Regions from separate parts of the Homo sapiens genome. Here region 2 is linked to region 1. The links are contacts of gene promoters, found by promoter capture Hi-C in blood cells and fetal thymus (Javierre and others, 2016). All regions are on one chromosome and are shown on one strand. Each heading gives the region's core, a stretch centred on a gene start or on the middle of the fragment in contact. The rest is flanking DNA. Distances are from core to core; before and after follow the strand shown. Region 1 holds the start of KDM4A-AS1 (KDM4A antisense RNA 1). Region 2 overlaps IPO13 (importin 13).

Evidence for each region. Contacts are between HindIII fragments. The CHiCAGO score rates a contact against its expected background, and 5 or more counts as called.
Region 2: a contact is called between a fragment that was not itself captured here and the fragment with the promoter of KDM4A-AS1 in region 1, in 7 of 17 cell types (endothelial precursors, monocytes, M1 macrophages and 4 more). The highest score is 9.7, in endothelial precursors.

The regions. Positions count from the first base shown.
Region 1 is chr1:43,704,459-43,710,066 of GRCh38, forward strand. KDM4A-AS1 (KDM4A antisense RNA 1) reads right to left here and starts at 2,883. Exons shown (of 5, transcript NR_033827.1): 1 at 2,601-2,883. It overlaps ST3GAL3 (ST3 beta-galactoside alpha-2,3-sialyltransferase 3), which reads left to right and starts at 3,078. Exons shown (of 12, transcript NM_006279.5): 1 at 3,078-3,235. It overlaps KDM4A (lysine demethylase 4A), which reads left to right. Exons shown (of 22, transcript NM_014663.3): 22 at 1-1,060. ST3GAL3-AS1 (ST3GAL3 antisense RNA 1) reads right to left here. Exons shown (of 4, transcript NR_125986.1): 4 at 4,934-5,077. RefSeq lists enhancers at 2,513-3,030, 2,756-2,835 and silencers at 2,966-3,465, 3,496-3,545. The HindIII fragment of the contact is 3,706 bases long and covers 2,621-5,608 here.
Region 2 is chr1:43,954,676-43,960,927 of GRCh38, forward strand. IPO13 (importin 13) reads left to right here. Exons shown (of 20, transcript NM_014652.4): 3 at 1,645-1,785; 4 at 1,885-2,026; 5 at 2,135-2,301; 6 at 2,520-2,640; 7 at 2,727-2,874; 8 at 3,302-3,483; 9 at 3,567-3,593; 10 at 3,786-3,920; 11 at 4,071-4,214; 12 at 5,574-5,654; 13 at 6,201-6,252. Among named protein-coding and RNA genes, the nearest start is that of IPO13, 11 kb to the left of the region's middle. RefSeq lists an enhancer at 6,227-6,252. The HindIII fragment of the contact is 5,643 bases long and covers 1-4,720 here.

The DNA of each region.
Region 1 (5,608 bases), core at 1,633-4,132:
TGAAAGTGAAGTTGTAAAAAGAAAAGGAATGAAATAACCGACCCATCATCTTCTCACCCACCCTCATTGCATTCCGCTGTAGTGAAAGGACGAGCCATTTCTGGGCACGTGGCAGCAGTCGCTGATCTCCCAGCTGAGGGGCTGAGCACTGGAATGCTGTGGCTGCACTGGCCCCAGTCCATAGAGGGGTCAACTATGCTGGCTGGACTGGCTGCCTTGTTCCTGGCCTAGGACTTAGCTTCATAACTATCACCTGCACCGACTAGGCTGAGGTGCTGGTACTTGCCCCAACCCCTACTTTTGTATTTATATGTGTGTGTGTGTGTGCGTGCGTGCGTGCGTGCGTGTATGTTTGGTCTGGACCAGCTTCTGCCAGCCCCTGGCCTTTACTTTCTTCCTTGCCTATGCAGGGCAAACAAAATGTGAAATTCTGCCCTCAGCTGAGCTGAGTAAGGGCTCCTGGGGGTTGGCTGGAGATGGGTGTGGCATCTGTCCAGGCCTGGAACCGTCTCAAGACAGTGCTGGCAAAGCTGCAGTATTGAGATGCTAAGGAGCTGATGCCACCTCTTTGTCTTCCCCTAAAGGAGAACATGGGGATAACATGGGTGTGTGCCCACAACACTCTAGGTGCAGAGCCCCTGTGGCAAAGTATTACAGGGTGTGGGTGGGGATTACCCTGAATCGGGGATTTTAATGATGGAAGCAGGCAGAGCCTGGTGGGTGATTCTGTCAACAGAAAATTGCAATCATGCAGGGGCTGGGAGGGTTAGGATGAAAAAACTGGGGCCATTGGAGGCCCACTGTAGGTGGGAGGGAGCTGATTTTGGGGTGGGGGGTGGGACTAGAGGGCAATACTGAAGGGGTTAAACAGGTTTTTGCTCCTCAAGAATTTGTTTGCCTGGGCCCAGGATTGGAGGGCTTCACACCAATACCCTGTGTATACAAGAATCAGATTTATAATACTTCCCCTTTTTTGTTACGTATGAACACTATAAACCAAATTATTTTGAAAACTGGTGCATCACCTTGTCCTTAGCAATAAAATGTGTTGAGCAGAGGATTGGCTGTCTGCCCCAAGGAGCCCACGTGGCCCACGTCAGGCTGGGGGGTGTATCTAGAGTCATAGGCTCTGGAGCGGGGCTGTGTATTTTAAGACAAATCAGTAAGGCATTCCCTAGGAAGTTCCAGAGAGTGGGTCCTTTGCTTGTCAAGCTCTGTATTAGGCCAAGTATGGTGGGTCATGGGAGCAGGGACACTTCTGGCTCTGAGCACCTCTTTGTTGTGCTTGCTCTGCCTTAGAGACGGGCAAGATGAGGTAACAGAGGAAGCACCAGACCAATGAGTCCTCTCAACAGAGTATCTCTCACTGCTGCCCCATTTGATACATCTTTGTTGAACTGGCCTAAGTTCATGCCAGCATCTGTGCTCTATACAAATTGTGGAACCAGTGGGAAGGATGGGTGCATTTTAGGTGCTTGAAAAGCAAGGGACTCAACCTCCAGTGGGATCCTCAGATTGCTCTCCGAGCTGTCTAGTTGGTGAGAAGCTTCCCTGGAGGAAGACCCAATCTCCTTTGGCTGGTAGATCCCTGAGGTCAAAGTGGACAAGGATGGGGAACCACAGAGCAGGGAGGGGGGCAATGAATAGGTGCAGGACTTGGGTGCCCCGGAGCTGCACCGGCTGGCCCTTAAACAGCCAGGCACTTCCTGTGGCATGGCCCTGTCCAGGTGCAGGAGAGGCTTAGGTCAGTTCAGCTGCTCTGGATGCTTCCTTGTGTCCCTGGGGGTTGAGAGGTGGTTGCTACTTGGTATCTCATTGTGGAGAAAGGGAGGTGCAGGAGGTGATCTTTTCTATGTCAGCTCCCTCCTGGGGCCCAGGGAGGGAAGTTGGCCTTTTTTTTTCTTTGCCCACACTCCACTTGGGGATTCCCAGGGGATGTAGCAAGGGAGGCTGGGCAGAACCAGGCCTTAGTGGATTGGTGAGAGAACACTAATCCATACATCTTTGGAAGAGAGGAACACTTCACCAGCCTTTTTACACAGGATCCCTACCTTTCTCGATGACCCCACTGCCTCCAGGGGTGGGCGCTGGGTTTAATCCCAGCAGTTTTTACTCAACAGCTGACCAGTTTTCCAGAAACTGCACTTTTTTTTTTTGGTCAACCTAATAACTCTTAGGAAACTGCAACTCAGGTGATCCAAATCACACAGACCGGCCCGTTCTCTCCCCTACTGGCTGCCTATGCAGTCGGGTCGACCTCAAGAGAACTGGCCCCAGCCAAAAGCGGCACCTCCCGGCCTGCCAGTCCCTTCCTGCCTTAGGCAGCTCCTCCCAGAAGCCTTTTTGTAGGGCAAACTGCCTTCCCTTTGTAAGGTAGGGCCTTTGGATCCAAGGTTGCAGTTTAAAGACCACCCCGACTTTGTTGAGGAATTAAGTTTTAAATTCCGCCCCAGGCGGATAACACCAGGGCTCAGCCGCAGGAATGAAAAAGGAGTGGGAGGGCTGCAAAGTGTACGTGGGGCTTGGAGGCCTTGTGCCACGCGCGGACTAAAAATGTTCTACGAGTCTCTTAACGCTCACCCCCGTGCCCCCTTACCCACCAGGGCCCACGGAGGTCCGAAGCTTTCGGCCTCAGTGAGCGGAATGGGTGCGCTCACGACCTGGAGGGCGAGATGAGATGTCCCTCGGCGTGAAGTGGCCGTGACTACCCTAGCACTTTGCGTTCCCCGCGCGGGCGACGAAACACGCTCTCGAGGGGAGAGAGCCGTGCGTCCTCTGGGCCGTGAAGCCAGGGGAAGAGGGTTCCTCTAGACAGCTCGATGTGCCCGGGAGAGACACCCACGCTGAACCTGCAAGCTGGGGTGCTCCACCAGCGCGAACCTCTCGCCCCGCACTCGCCGCAGCACTGCTCTCGTGGTAGGCGGGGTGGGCGGGACGGCAAATCCGCGGCTCCTGCGTCTATTGGGCTGCTCGGGGCAGCGCAGCTCCGCATTGGCCAGGCCCTCGCTCCGCCCGGCTTCCGCGAGCCCATTGGTCGCAGGCGCCCGACCGGGTCGCGGCCGCGCGCTCCGCCCGCCGCTGCGTCCCCACTATGGCGGCGCCCATGCAGCCCAGCGCGTTGTGGGCTCCCGCCGGGGTCCCCCGCGGCTGTCGCCGCCGCCTACGCCGCTGCCTCCGCCTTCCTGCCCCGCGTCGGGCCGGGCGCCACCTCCCCCCTGCCTCCCTCTCCGCTGTGGTAAGGGCCTGCCCAGTGCGCTTCGGGGCGCGATGGCTGACCGCGAATAACGGTCGCCGCTCCGCCCCGCCCCTCCCCCGCCGGCCGCGGGTCCCGGGCTGGGCGGGGCGCGGAGCCCGCGCGCTAGTGCCCGGGAAGGCGGGGTCGGGGCACGGCCCAGTCGTCCTTCGGGCTGGGGGCCCAGTACCTGGATGACCTCTCCTGGGTGGGGGCCGCCGAGCCTGGGGGAAAGGCCGGCCGGACGCAGGCCAGGAGGTCTGAGATCATCTCCGTGTGAAACCCCGCAGCGCTGCGCACCTTGGCGCAGAGCACGGACACCGTCATTCGGGCCCTGCTGTGGGAAAAGGAAAGAAAAGTCCAGGGAGCGCCTGAGCGGGAATCGGCAGCGTTTGGGTAGCGGTTGTCATTGCTTACTGCTCTAGCGGGGGCCAGAACTGGGGTCAGTTTGATCGGCAAAGTACGCCTCTCTTGCTTCCTTTCCTTCTGGCACTTTCCCCCGTTGTGTCCTCGGTGCTTTTGCTTGCAAGAGAAAATATCTTAGTGAGGAGGGCAGGTTTGGTTAGGAGAGTGTCCCATGAACATTTTGGATTCCTTTTTACAACAATGTCCATTTTTATGATTCCTCAGTAAGCCTCATTTATGTTTCCTTCACGTATGAGGAAGGAGTGAAACCTGATAACTGAATGTAATTAATTGAGGGAAGGACCAGTGAAGGCGGCTATTACCTCAGAAAGTAAAATACTCAAACTTTTCAGTGGATGTACTGTGAATTATAGATAGCTGGACATTAAGGTAGGAAAAAACTCTTATTAGGTTACTAAAAGTAAGATAGTCCCCATGACAAATTAGGTTGTTTCTAAGGCAGAATTATCTTGTAGAGATGATCACTGAAATGTTTGGTGTACTTTCAAGTCAACAGAGGATTAAAAGGAAGCTGGCACAGAAATTTATAGCCAAATGATACTTTCAAATAATCTCTTAAGGCAATACAGCTCCTCCTATGATTAGAGATTCTTAAGGATATTTTGAGATATTAAGTGGTGAATCTCTCCATTTCGCGTGTCTAACTGTCTAACCATGGTTTAATAAAAATAAAATGTTAACGATGAAACAAGACATTCATGTTCTCAGAGACTAACAGACTTTGTATCAATCAATGGAACGCCTCTTGAGTACATATTTTATGCAAGGCATTGACTGAGGGGAAACTCAAAACCATTTAAGATAAGAAACTTGCTCTAATGGGCCTATAATATACTTGAGGGAATAAAGCACACACATGACAATGATAACTGTGATATGGTCTCTAGAATTCCAAGATGGTAGGTACTCTGAGAAACCGAGAAAAGGAGAAATCCATGTGTTTGAGGAAGGTTTCACAGGGAAGCTGAGGCTTGAATTGGGTCATGAAGAGTGGGTAGCCGGCTGTATGAAGGGGAAGAAGTGAGCAGATGAGAAAGTGAGGATGACAAAGGTGCAGGGGAACCTGAGATGCTCATGGGTGGTTCCAGGGGGTTTCTTAGCAGAAAAAGCAGGATATGAGGTTGCACAAAAGGTAGGTTGATGGCATTAATCCAAGAGGTACCTTTGTCCTGTGTGGTGCAAAGAGTAAACAAGTAATAGAATTTACTTCAAAGGAAGCTGTAGCTAACTATCAGGAATACAGTAACACTTTACTTGTCATTGTCACTTTTTCTTTTTTCTTTTTTTTTTGAGACAGGGTCTCCCTCTGTCACCCATGCTGGAGTGCAGTGAATGTGGCTCTCTGCAGCCTTGACTTTCTGGACTCAGGCGATCCTCCCACCTCAGCTTCCCAAGTAGCTGGGACCACAGGCAGGTGACCTGGAGAATTAAAAAAAATTTTTTTTGTAGAGACAGGGTCTTGTCATGTTGCCCAGGCTGTTCTTGAACTCCTGGGCTCAAGAAATCTTCCCACCTTGAGTTCGAGACCAGCCTAGCCAACATGATGAAACCCCGTCTCTACCAAAAAAAAAATACAAAAAATTAGCCAGGCGTGGTGGCAGGCGCCTGTAATCCCAGCTGCTCGGGAGGCTGAGGCAGGAGAATCGCTTGAACCCGGGAGGTGGAGGTTGCAATGAGCCGAGATCGCGCCAGTGCACTCCAGACTGGGCAACAAGCGTGAAACTCGGTCAAAAAAAAGAAAGAAAGAAATCCTCCACCTCAGCCTCCCAAAGTGTTGAGAATATATGCGTGAGCCACCACACCTAGCCCATTGTCGCTTTTCTGATTCACCTCAGCTACTTGGAATAACAGTTCTCTCAACCCAGAAGCGGCACCTCAAGTTTATTCTTACTTTTCTTCTTTTTTTCTCCCCGTGTTTTTGGTTGGGTGCCAGGTCTTGTTGACCCTACT
Region 2 (6,252 bases), core at 649-3,148, 250 kb after region 1:
TACTGGGCTGTCTGTCCTTCTCCTTTAGAGATCATTGTGTTTCAGGGCTGTGATCTGGACCCTCTTATTTTTTTCTCATTCAACACTTTCTCCTTGGGCAATTCTCATCTATTCCCATAACTTCAATTACCAGCTGTTAGCTGATGACTCTCAAATCTATGGCTTTTGCTCTAACCTCTATGCTGGGCTTCAGGCTTTTATATCCAACTCTTTCTAGATGCTTCTGCCTGCATAACCTATCAGGTGTCTCTGAATCAACTTGTCTAAGACTGAGCTTATCACCTTCCACCTCCCATTAAAGGTGTTACTGTTCCCCGCTACTCACCCCACAGGTCTCAGTAAATAGCTCCACCGTCTACTTAGTTGTTTAGCCAGTGACCTGAGAGGTGTCTTTATTCTTCTCCTTCCTCATATCCAGTCAGTCATCAAGTCCTGTCTGTTTTGCCTCTTAGCTCTCTCTGAGTTCATTGTCTACTTCTCTTCCTCCCTGCTGCCACCACACTCCTCAAGAGTTGGGATTTGGTGGTAGAGGGTGGAGCGGATGGCAGGGATTGATGCTCTCATGAGCTGTTGCTGCCTTCCAAAGTCTTTTTTTTTTTTTTAAATCAGGGCTTATGAGCCTGTGTTTACTCTTCTGTATCCCACTCTTGTTCAATCACCCCTGACAGACTGTATTAGTTTCCTAGGGCTACCATAACATAGTACCACAAACTAGGTGGCTTTAAAGCCAAACAGAAATTAACTGTCTCACAATTGTGAAGGATAGAAGTCTGAAATCAAGGTGTTGGCAAGGCTGTGCTCCCTCTGAAACCTGTAGGAGACTCCGTCCTTGCCTCTTCCTAGCTCTGTGGTTTGCTGGCGGTCTTCAGTGTTCCCTGGCTTCCAGCTGGATCACTCCACTCTCTACTTTCATCCTCACGTGGCATTCTCCCTGTATGTCTCTGTCTTCACATAGATATCTTCTTATAAGGACACCAGTCATATTGGAGTTCAGGTCCATCCTACTCCAGTATAACCTCATCTGCAATTATCTTATTTCCAAATAAGATCACATTTTGAGGTACTGGGGATTAAGATTTATCAAAAAATGTATCTTTTTGTGGGGACTTAATTTGACCCATGACAGTCTGCCCTCTGGTGCCCCAAACTTCATGTTATCCCCACATGCAAAATATATTCACTTCATCTCAATCTCCCCAAAAGTTGTAACCTAGCTGGATGTGGTGGCTCCACCTGTAATCCCAGCTACTCTGGAGGCTGAGCAGGAGGCTGAGTCTCTTGAGCTCAGGAGTTCGAGACCAGCCTGGGTAACACAGCAAAACCCCATCTCAAAAAAAAAAAAAAAAAAAAAATCTTAACCCATTCCGGAATCAGCTCTCAGTCCAACTGGAGAACACAATTCAACCCATAATGCTGACCTTCTCATACGTCCTTCTCAGAGTTCTTCTGGGGGTCCCTGATCTAAGGTTCTTCCCAACATTGGGAACATCAAATCTGCCATGTAGACCCTGACCCTTTTTTTGCTTAGGATTTGATAAGGGAAGGGGAGCTTTGATGGAAGACAAGGAGATTATGCCTTTCTCTTAAAGCCAGTGTGGGGTTGAGCAGAGAGCTCTGATGGATTTTCTCACCTCATGCCTCTAGGTACGTGAACACACTCCTGAAACTCATCCCGCTGGTGCTGGGTCTGCAGGAACAACTGCGGCAGGCAGTGCAGAATGGGGACATGGAGACCTCCCATGGCATCTGTCGCATCGCTGTGGCCCTGGGCGAGAACCACTCCCGGTAAAGGGTGGAGCAGCTTGGGGTGGGATAGTAGGGCCCTCTAAGAAATGGGGTTCTGGAAGTCCCTGGAAAGGTAGAATGACCTGACTCTCTCCCCAGGGCCTTGCTGGACCAAGTAGAGCACTGGCAGAGTTTCCTGGCACTCGTCAACATGATTATGTTCTGCACAGGCATCCCTGGCCACTATCCTGTCAATGAGACCACCAGCTCCCTAACCCTCACCTTCTGGTACACACTGCAGGTGTGTCTGTGTGACCTCCAGTAGGACTGGGCTGTGGTGGAAGAAGGTGGATCATGGGCTTCTATGACTGCTGGTGAGGTGGCTAATTCTCTTCCCTGGCTCTCTCAGGATGATATTCTATCCTTTGAGGCAGAGAAGCAGGCTGTATACCAGCAGGTGTACCGGCCAGTCTACTTCCAGCTGGTGGATGTGCTTCTGCACAAGGCCCAGTTCCCTTCTGATGAGGAATATGGATTCTGGTCCTCAGACGAGAAGGAGCAGTTCCGAATTTACAGGTGATGGTAGCAGGCCAACTCCTCTAAAATGGAGTCCAGAAATAATGAAGGCAATGAGGGAAGGGGCCCAAGTCCAGGCTTTCTGAATTTTGGTGCTCCTTTCTGTTTTCTAGGTATTGTTGCAGAGTTGTGGGGGTACTGGGGTAGGCTCCTGGGCTTGGGGGCAGGATCCAGGGTCAGGATCCAGGCAGTATAAAAGGCCTTCATCTGCTTCTCAGGGTGGACATCTCAGACACGCTCATGTATGTCTATGAGATGTTGGGGGCCGAGCTGCTCAGCAACCTCTATGACAAGCTGGGTCGTTTGCTCACCAGCTCAGAGGAGCCCTACTCCTGGCAGGTACCTCCCAAGCCTGATTCCCTCAGCCTTCCCAGACCTGTCACACCCTCCTCCTCATCCAAGCCAGTGGCACCCTCTTTCCCCAGCACACAGAGGCCCTCCTCTACGGCTTCCAATCCATCGCAGAGACCATTGACGTCAACTATTCTGATGTGGTGCCTGGGCTCATTGGCCTCATCCCACGGATCAGCATCAGCAACGTGCAGCTGGCAGACACTGTCATGTTCACCATTGGTGAGACCTGGCACACACCCATGACCATATTCCCAGAGCCACAGCACCCAACCCTGGCCACAGCCAGCATGCTGGATCCTATCCAGAATGGGAGAGCCACATGCCTACACACAATCAGTGTTGTAACAAACTGACTGTCCTGGCAGGTCTAGGGGGTCCATCTGATGGCACACTGAGCTGCAATTCAGTGAGGCTAGTTTACCGTCAGTGAAACAGCAGTACTGGGCCTCTGTTGAGTAACCCCTTCCTGCTTCTCAGCTGTAAGGCTCATGTTTGAGCATGCACATGCATATGTCCTCTGAATGGGGCAGTACTCTGTGCTGGGGCTGCAACTTGACCCTGCCAGGAACTCTGCTTGCCTCAGAGACATGGTACAAAGCCAGCCTGGCCTGCCTCAAAGATCCTCCTGTCTCCCTCCTTCCTCCAGGAGCTCTGTCTGAATGGCTGGCTGACCACCCCGTCATGATCAACAGTGTTCTGCCCTTGGTACTGCATGCCCTAGGCAATCCTGAGCTGTCTGTCTCTTCTGTGTCCACCCTCAAGAAGATCTGCCGAGAGTGCAAGTATGACCTGCCTCCCTATGCTGCCAACATTGTGGCTGTGTCCCAGGTATGCAGGGGCCCTGGATGGTGCTGGGCCTCAGAGCACACTCTGCACTGTGCTGATACTACATTCCTTCTTTCTCCCCTCAGGATGTGCTGATGAAACAGATCCACAAGGTGCGGCTCAAAAGTTTCTAGGGGTCTCCTTGGAGGTCTTGTGGGAATCACTTATCCCTGAAATCCTGTTTTTTGGCCTTCCCCTTCCTCTTATCCCTTATTCTCTGTTTTTCTTCTCCCAAGAGGCTCATTTTCCTTCCTACCCCACAACTAGATGTGGCCAGGACTGACCATCCATGTTCTGCCCCACAGACAAGCCAGTGCATGTGGCTGATGCAGGCGCTGGGCTTCCTGCTGTCAGCTCTTCAAGTGGAGGAGATCCTTAAGAACCTGCACTCGCTTATCTCACCCTATATCCAGCAACTGGAGAAGCTGGCAGAGGAGATAGTGAGTGAGCTCTGGGGGCCAGGGAGCGGTACTGAGATGCTGTGGCTGATGAGGGGTGAGGTTGGAGCTGGCCCTCAGAGCTGAGGCTCAGTGATCTGGGGACCAAACTGGGGCTGGGAGATCTGGAGCTTGGTTTGCTTCTCCCTGCAGCCCAATCCCTCCAACAAGCTGGCCATTGTTCACATCTTGGGGCTTCTCTCCAACCTCTTCACCACACTGGACATCAGTCATCATGAGGATGATCATGAAGGCCCTGAGCTTCGGAAGCTGCCAGTGCCACAGGGACCCAACCCCGTGGGTGACATTTGCCCACGGCAAAGACATTTGTCTTTGCCATCCCCCCAACCCCCACCTGTGGGAATGTCATTGTCACTCTTCAATTCTGTGGGTAATGTTGTCATTGTTCTCCCTGCCCCGTGGGCGTGATATATTTGGTCCTCTGACTCCATGAATGACCTATAATTGCCTCACTCTGTAGGCAGCAATGTCATTATCTCACTCAGCTCTGTGTGTGATGTTGTCCTTGTCCCCAGCCCAATTAGGGTGATGTCATTGAGATTCCTCAGCCCCATGAGGGACATTGACGTTATATCCTTCAACCCTTAAGTGATTTTATGGGCCCCTGTTCAACCCCTAGCTCTGTAGGGCCTTCTACTTCAACATTTACTGTCCCCTGTGGGCACTAAGGATGCTCATTACCTCCTCCGCATGTAATAGTTCTGGCCTTCAAGTTGCTCCCAGTGTAGAGGAAATTCAGGTTGCTCAAATTGTCACAAAGCAGTGTGATAAGTCCTGTGGTAAGCTTGGGCATAGGTTTTGGGGTGACCACTTACAAGCTGCTTGATCTGGGGCAAGCCTCAGCTTCCCATTAAAAACTATGAACATTGAAATGTCTGGCTTACTCAATTCATAGAACTGTGCTGGATAGTAGATGTGGTCTTAAGTGAAGGTAGTTTGCATATTGTAAAGTTCTTTACAAATATAAGGGACTGCTTTAGTCGTTGTTCCCAGAACTCCCTCCCAGATTTCTCCAGGAGAAAAGGAAGCCATAGGCATCCTGGCCTCTCTGCTTAACTCCCCAACCCAGTTTCAGTTAGCCTCTTGGCTTTAGACCACCCCTGGGCCACTGTCATCCCACAGAGCTGCTTCTTTACATGGTAGTCATCATCCTGCCTTTCCTCACCTCCCAGGACCTCAGTCTGCTCTCTGCTCCTCCATAAGCTGGGAGAGCAGCTTAAGCCTGCATCTGTGCATTCCTTGGGGCTCCCTACCTCAAGCCTATTTGGAGGAGATAGCATCTCCACTTCTTCAGAGGCTAGCCCATAGCCTTGGTTTTACAGAGCAGAGATAGGGAGAGATTTTTTTTTAAGTTTACAAAGTTTTTGTAACCTTATGAAGCACTTGTGATATCTCTGCTTTGCAGTTTGAGGCTTCCTTTGAGATGATCCCTAGAATTCAGGAAATACTCCTTTTTCATTCATGAGAGAGTTCAGCAAACCACTTCTTCCCCCAGGGGTCCCATGCCCTGGGTCCTCAATGTGTGTTCTGGGGTAATAGGTCTGAACTGCTCCCCTCCTCCCTGCCACCAAGTCCTCCTCAAGTGGGTCACAGTGATGGATAGCAGAAGCGCCTCACTTCTTCCTGTGCCTTCAGGTGGTGGTGGTGCTGCAGCAGGTCTTCCAGCTTATCCAGAAGGTGCTGAGCAAATGGTTGAATGATGCCCAGGTTGTGGAGGTGAGCCCTGACCCTTGCCCTCCGCTCCCATAGTGACTGCTCAGAGGTGTAGCAGGGTAAGATGTTACTGCCACACTTCAGCTTACAATGGTTTGGAGAAAACAAGGGAGGTGAATCCTGCCCCATAGAGATAAGGAATCTTTTGGGAAGACATTTAGAACTCCCCAATATCATGAGAAGTGCTTAACGTAAGGACTCTAATATTAGGGTCGAGTGACAGTCAGGCATCTGTTTTAGCACCAAAGACCTGCCTTTGGTCCCTTTTCAATTCAGGTTTTTGTTGCTGTTGCTGCTCCCTGAGAGGAAATGTTAGAGATGTAAGTCGCAGGAGTTAAGTTCCACAGTTACATCCTGTGCCCCTCAGTGAAGGGCCTTTGCCCCCTGCCTTTCAGGGTGAGGGTCAGACTTGCTTACCTTCCTTGGTTTGCAGGGCCAGGCAAGGCTTATAGGTAAGGGCCCAATCGTAGGCCCCCTCTGTGCAGGGCTTCAGCGCTGTTCCAGCCAGTCATGACCTGCTGACCAGGGCCCCTTTGCTTTCTTCCCAAGGCGGTGTGCGCTATCTTTGAGAAGTCTGTTAAGACGCTGCTGGATGACTTTG